2 separate regions of the Homo sapiens genome follow, and region 2 is linked to region 1. The links are contacts of gene promoters, found by promoter capture Hi-C in blood cells and fetal thymus (Javierre and others, 2016). All regions are on one chromosome and are shown on one strand. Each heading gives the region's core, a stretch centred on a gene start or on the middle of the fragment in contact. The rest is flanking DNA. Distances are from core to core; before and after follow the strand shown. Region 1 holds the start of CFAP298 (cilia and flagella associated protein 298). Region 2 overlaps URB1 (URB1 ribosome biogenesis factor).

Region 1 (3,734 bases), core at 563-3,062:
ACTAATGTGACTCTTAGCATTCAGCACATTTCCAATTTATAACGTTATAGGAAAAGAAGATGAATTCCTTTTCTCCTCAAATGCTTTAACTTAAAAATAACATTTAATATTGAGTTTGTGTTGGAACCTCAATTAAGAAACTACACATAAGTTTCATGAAAAGAACCATGACCCTCAGGAATTTCTCCACGGTGCAAAACTCACATATTCATATAATGTAATCAATACATTTCATAATAAATCACATATTCATGCAATTTAATAAATCACATAAATGAATATACTATTTATTGCAAATAGTTACGTTTGTATATTCTATATATACACGATAGTTATATAAACAGTAATATCCTAGACCACATCAGGAAGTATCATCCCGTCAAGTTCAAAAACTATGCTGTCTAATGCGGCAGCTACTCGCTCCACTTGGCGATTTAAATTTATTTAAATTAAAATGACCCAGACGCGATGGATCACACTTGTAATCCTAGCACTTTGGGAGGCGGAGGCAGGCGGATCACCTGAGGTCAGGCGTTCGAGACCAGCCTGGCCAACATGATGAAACCCCGTGTCCACTAAAGATACAAATATTAGCTGGGCGTGGTGGTGGGCGCCTGTAATCTCAGATACTTGGGAGGCTGAGGCAGGAGAATAGCTTGAACCCGGGAGGCGAAGGTTGCAGTGAGCAGAGATCGCGCCACTGCACTCCAGCCTGGGCAACAGTAAGACCCTGTCTCTCACACACACACATACCATATATATATATATATATATAATTTATTTATATTTATATATACATATATATAATTTATTTATATTCATATATACTATATATATGGTATTTATTTATATTTATATATATTTAATTAATTAAAATGCAAATGTAAAATTCGGTTGCCTGGCCGCACTAGCCACATTCCAAATGCTCTACGGCCACAAGTGGCCGGCAGCTGCCCAATGGACAGCACAGATGGGGGCCCTTCCACCGCCGGAAAGTTCTGCGGCAAAGCGGGTGCCCTGGAACCTGCGCGGGGTAGGGAGACGGCGCCGCAACGCAACAGGCCGTTTCCAGGGCGGGGAAAGATCACCAAGGCTTCCTCAACTGTAAGGGGCCGTCCCAAAGCCAGGTGGCTCGCTGCTTTACATTGGGCGACTAAAAATAGTAAATTCAGCTTTTAAAAGCCCACCTAGTTCTCATCTCACCCCTCACACGTGATTAATTGCACTAAGTCTGCTGTTCAGCCCGGCCTTTCGGCTCCCTCCTCCCTCCCCAGCCCATTTCCACTTATTCGCAGCACCCCAAATCCTGGCTCCGAGAGGCACCTGGGCCCACCTCCCAGCCCGGGGTGTCAGACAGGCCGGATCTTCTCCGGTTCCTTATTCATCTCCGGTTAACCCTAGTGTCCCGTTTCAACCCCGGCTGCTGCAAATCTCTTCAATAATCTTCACAAACCTGACCCCTCGGCCCACCCTGCCCCTCTTTCTCCATCCCACGCCGGTCTCTCGATCTGTCCGGGATGGGCCCACCCGCGAGCCGCACCTGAGCAGAGGCGCTGCACCTTGAGCCGCCCATTATAGACCCGGGCCACCTGCACCGTGAGCTCCTCCAGCTCGGTACTCCCAGGCGCCTGCAGCAGGAACTGGCTCTCGTCGCCCCGCTTCACGTGCAGCAGAACCATGGCGGTCCCGCCGAGGTACTGAGGCGTTGAGAAGGCCCCGGCTGCGTGGCCCGCGGGTCCTGCCGGCCGAGGGTCGCCGGATCGCCAGCAGCTGCGACGCACTAACAGCCGCTCACAGTCCGGAATCCCACGCTCCCTAGCCCGCGGTGAGCGGGGGAAACGGCACTCGCTCCCGGAAGTGGATGTTGCCAAGAGCAACAGTGAAGCAGAGTTAAAGAGCCGCCAGCTCAAGCTCAGAACCCGAGTGGGGGAGGCTGGGGTGCACCGAGGCCCAGCAATCCAAGCCCGTACGGAGCTGCGGCCGGGGAAACCACCCACACAGTCTGAGAGGACAGCTGATTCTGAGCGGACCGACGGAAGGAGATTCGCAGAGCCCCTTCCCGGAAGTGACTGTTGTCGCGGCAACTGCCAAAACACAGACCAAGTCGCTGAAGGGGAGGGCGGACCTCCCAATCGACTGGTCTGGGGCCCGAGATTTCCACTCAGGGAGATACGTGGGCTGAGATGGGAGTTACTAGATGGGGAACGGGAAATACGGCGGGAACCACAATCGCGCAGTTCCGCAGCTGCCGCCCCACAACCGCTCCACATTCCAGCGTCCCTTCCGCCGCTTTCAGTCTCCACTTCCGGCAACGTTTCCACGCTGTTTCCGGCCTGGGAAAGTTCGGCGGCAGCGACCCAGAACTGAGTCTTGCTGTTCGCTGCTGTTTGCGCGGGTCAGCTTTTCAGGACGGAGGGGCCAGGGCGAGTGTCCGCACTTCTTCGTTCAGGTTGATTTGGATGGCGTTGCTGGGGTAGCTCCAGCGGCCCCTGCCAGAGCGACCCTCCCAGAAATATCCAGCCATCCTCCAGCGGACTCTTGCTGAAGGCAGTCGGCGTCAGTCGCTGTTTATTCCGGGCCCCACAGATCCAGAGTCACTGCTCTCATGGAGCTTATATTTTAGTGTGACAAAAAGAAAACAAAAATAAATGGACAGGCCAGGAGCGGTGGCTCACGCGTGTAATCCCAACACTTAGGGAGGCCGAGGAGGGCGGATCACCTGAGGTCAGGAGTTCGAAAGCAGCCTGGCCAACATGGTGAAACCCCTTCTCTACTAAAAATACAAAAATTAGCCGAACGTAGTGGCGCGTGCCAGTAATTCCAGCTACTAGGGAGCCTGAGGTGGGAGAATTGCTTGAACCCGGGAGGCGGAGGTTGCAGTGAGCCTAGATCGCGCCACTACCCTCCAGCCTTGGCGACAGAGTGAGACTGTGTCTCAAAAATAATAAATAAACAAACGGACAACACAAATTCAAATACAGATCTAAAGAAAACTAAACAGGTTGATGGACTTCTTATGTTTGATGGTCAGGGAATGTACACCTTCTGCGATATTGGGAGTAATATTATCGTCTCCCGCCCTGAATATTTAGAAAAATATCACAGTGGGGTGTACACCCCTGCGATATTGAGAGTAATGTCATCCTCTCCACCCAGGAAATTACTAACAAGGTCACGGAGGGGTGTACTCCCCCTGTGATATTGGGAGTAATGTTTTCCTCCCCAAACCTGGATGTTAGCAACAAGATAACAGAGGGGGTGTACACACCCTGCGATATTGGAAGTAATATGATCCTCTCCCCCCCGGATACTGGGAAAAATATCACAGCGCGGGTATACATTTCCTTCGCTGTTGGGAGTAATATCATTCTTTTCCTCTCTGGATATCAGGAACAATATCACAGGGGTGGTGTACATTTCCTTCGATATGGGGAGTAATATCATCCTCTCCCCGTTGGGATACTAGGAACAATATCCCAGGGGGGTGTCCACCCTCTGCGATATTGGGAGTAATATCATCCTCTGTTTCCCCGGATATTAGACACAATATCACAAAAAAGTGTACACCCCCTGCGATATTGGGAGTAATATCATACTCTCCTTCCCTGGATATTAGAAAACAATATCATCAGGGGTGAGCACCCCCTGCGATAATGGAAGTAATATTTTCTCTTTTTTTCTTTTCTTTTTTTTTTTTTTTTTTTTTTAACAGAGTTTCACTCTTGCTGCCCAGG
Region 2 (3,475 bases), core at 482-2,981, 240 kb before region 1:
AAAAACCAAATTAGAAAGTATAATTTTGATCAGAAAAACTATCCTTTAAAAAAGGACATGAAAATATCCTTTCCTAATATGAAAATGTCATGAACAAAATAGTTTGTACTGTCAAATGAAAAGGATATTAAATCTACAAAGAGTGCTAAAAATACTACACATGCTTTATTTTAATCAACAACGTAATAAAATGGAGAGCATTAATATTTATGTAGTGCACAACACATGCCAGACACTGCTCTAAGCAGTTACCACCACGTCTCTGCGACAGGCACTACTTTTATTCCCACTTTATAGACAAGATAATGGAGGCAGAGAGGATGCCTAACCCAGTGAAGGTCTCAGAGCTAAGTTGGGATTGAAGCCCAGCTGTCTGCTCTGTTAACCTACACCAGCGACTGGCAAAGTAGGGCCCAGCACCTATCATTGTAATTTGATTGGGACACAGGTAAACCTACTTATTTACATCTATGGATGCTTTGCTGGCACAACTGAGTGGTCACAACAGACTGTGTAGGCTGCCAAGCCCAAAATACAATCTGGCCCTTTGTAGAAAAGTTTGCCAATCCTTGCTCTATGCTCTAACACCAGCTTTCAGTGAACACCTACTATGTGCCAGGCACTGTCCTAGGGACTGGAGGCCCATAATAGACCAGCGCCCGTTCTCACCACTTCTCACCAATCTGATAATGAACAAGCAAATAAATAAATCAGCAAATAAATGTATGAACAGTCAGAAGCCTAAGCCAGGCAAAAAGCACAGTGACAGTGGAGGGACTATTTCAGAAAGGGCTGTCCGGGAAGGCCTCCCTGAAGTGGTGAGGTCTGCACAGGAACCTGAATGAAATGAATGAGTGGGCCACGTGTCTACTGGGGAACAGGGAACGATGCAATTCAGTGTTCTCAAAGCTTTCTATCACCATCCACAAACAAATCTCCTTCCTTTCCCTTATGCACAAACACTTGTCTTTTGCCCATGGCTTCAAAATTCACATAAATCACAGCTTGCTGCAAAGAGACGCACACCCACAAGTTGATTCAATATGCTCATTAAATGCTCATCTATTTCATGGGCCTAGTTATGGAGGAAAAATGCTTTAAAAAGGGGGAACAATGCATGTGTTTTAAGCATGGTGTAATATTCTATTCGACTATAAAAGTCTGCTGTTATGTTTTGGCAGGAAAATGAGCTCATTCTTACTGATGAAAGAAAAAAGAAATGATGTGACAAGTTAAATCACAGTGACCTCAGAATCAAAACACGTCCAAAGTCATAAGCAGACAGAAAAACTCCCACCATGTTATTCCATTCTGAAGGAATCACCTGATTTCCTGACTGGCTGAAATTAGAAGTAAATCAAACTGCCTAAATCCTTGTGATATAATGCTAGGATAGAATAACAAGGATTAAACAATAAATCATTTACACATTTACAATGACAAGAAAACATGGCCAATATTTTTATTGTCAAGTGGGAAAAAAGCAGATAGGATGAACAGTAGTAAGCCATTTTTGTTATTAAAAAAAAAAATCACATAGACCTGTATTATACGATTACAAAAAGAAAGTCTTAAAGAATATGATCAAAACCAGTAGATTTGAACTTAATATGTTTCCTTACTGATGAAATGTTACCACAATTGTGAAATGTGAAACAAAATGTTAAAAAAAAAAACAATTTTGAAACCGTGACTCATGGGCAGCCTGTCAAGGAGAGGGAGGACTGTTTTAGTATCAGTTTGGAGCTGGACTTCCTGGATTCCAGTGCAACCTCTGCCATTTAACCAGTGTAAGTGTCTCGACCTCTCTAGAACTACTTTCTTCCTCTGCAAAGCTGGCATAACAATGGTACCTGCGTCAGGACTGCTGTGAGGCCCATGTCAGGGCCAACCCTCTCTGGCAAGGCAGACGCCTTTTCTGAGCTCCAGCTGACGAACACTGTCTTTAGGTAAACATCCGCAGCACCTCCCTGGGTGAAATATCCCATGACCTAACTAAGTGCTAATAGACAGCTACCCTCAGAACTGCCCCTGAGGACATGCAACAAGGAGAAGTTCTCTGGGACTACAACTGTTCAACCCTGAAACGAGTTAGATAATGTCCACAATTCTAGTTCTAACCTACTACAGTTCCACTAGACACTCACATATGTGGTGACTTCTGAGGAACATACACACCCTGGGGTCCACAAGAGTGTTATACTTTACCTGCCAAAGGTACCCAAAGATGCATCGTAAAAATTAATTCCATGCTTGAGTGAACAGCAAAGATCCATCAGGAAGTTATGAACAAGCTCCCGCACCATGGTTTTCCCTGCTTCTTCGGCAGAAACCTATGAAGATTTTTTAAAAATTCAATGAAAATCCCAAGCTCATACACTTTAGTAAGAGCTAGAGTAAAAACAAGGACAATATTAACTGCCGATGACAATTTAGAAAACATTTTAAATACTTGGTGTCATTCCAAACAATAAATGAAAACAACAACAAAAAGATACACCGATCAAGATAAAAGAATACTCTGAAGAGGGGCAAGTTTAAACCTGTATTTTTAAAAGCTTTAAAGTGATCTAATTTCTCTTGTTCATTTGAATAAAATTCCATATTTGGGAGTGTTTTTATGCAGCCTCTGAGGCTTGCTGGTCTAGAGCATACAAAAACATGTTCAAAACAAGAGGACCTGGGCAAGTCTCCAAGATAAAAGGAGGTGAAATATTAGGCTCTTGAGAGGTGAATTATTATAACGTTAACAGGAAGTCTGTGCCTTTACTACTCTGGCCAAGTCCATGTTCAGTAACACCCTGAAGAAAATTAAAATATACACTGGCATTGGGTCGATGTTAAGAGCAGCTGTTTCAATTTAGCACGAGTTAACTAGCACAAAATAAATTATATATGTCAGTAGGTGAGGCTCCTAGACATTCAGGATCCTGAGGTTAAAAACAAACAAACAAACAAAAAACACACAACAAGCCTTGAAACTCCAACAACTGGACATGAAAGAATGGAAGGATGGGAAGGCAGAGGTAAAGCAAGAGGAAAAGATGGCCGGGATGACCCTGCAGGTCTAACAGGCAAGTGCTGCAGGGAAAACTAAGATATGGCTCAGCCCAAGGAAATCATAGTTTTCTAATTAAAAAAAAAAATTATTAGCATGATTAAGAAATTAGGGGAAAAAAATCCTATTGCAGTTAGCAGAGGGTTAATACAACCATATAACCACAGTCAAAAGAAACAGATCAAATGAGGGGACTTCAAGTCTGGTGCGGTGTTGAGAATTCTCCCTCTCCCAACCCTGAGGATCAAATTCCAACAACGAGGTCAACGAAAACCAAAAAGTGTCTGCACCTTGACATTTTCTGGGTTCACATCGGTAATCCCATTCCAGTTGTACAGCGATGCTATGTGGTTCAATAACTGCCCCGTAAAGAAACGCACCTTCTGGGTTTTTGTGATATTTTTATTGTGAACTACC

The links. The method cuts DNA at HindIII sites, captures the fragments that hold promoters and counts their contacts. A CHiCAGO score of 5 or more calls a contact.
Region 2: a fragment that was not itself captured here is called in contact with the fragment with the promoter of CFAP298 in region 1 in 6 of 17 cell types (M2 macrophages, M1 macrophages, M0 macrophages and 3 more); the score reaches 7.4 in M2 macrophages.

What each region holds. Positions count from the first base shown.
Region 1 is chr21:32,610,565-32,614,298 of GRCh38, forward strand. It overlaps CFAP298 (cilia and flagella associated protein 298), which reads right to left and starts at 1,813. Exons shown (of 7, transcript NM_021254.4): 1 at 1,541-1,813. The coding sequence starts at 1,679. It overlaps CFAP298-TCP10L (CFAP298-TCP10L readthrough), which reads right to left and starts at 1,813. Exons shown (of 12, transcript NR_146639.2): 1 at 1,541-1,813. RefSeq lists enhancers at 1,235-1,284, 1,945-2,054. The HindIII fragment of the contact is 6,059 bases long and covers 1-3,734 here.
Region 2 is chr21:32,370,299-32,373,773 of GRCh38, forward strand. It overlaps URB1 (URB1 ribosome biogenesis factor), which reads right to left. Exons shown (of 39, transcript NM_014825.3): 7 at 3,349-3,474; 8 at 2,209-2,333. Among named protein-coding and RNA genes, the nearest start is that of SNORA80A, 5.3 kb to the right of the region's middle. The HindIII fragment of the contact is 1,649 bases long and covers 908-2,556 here.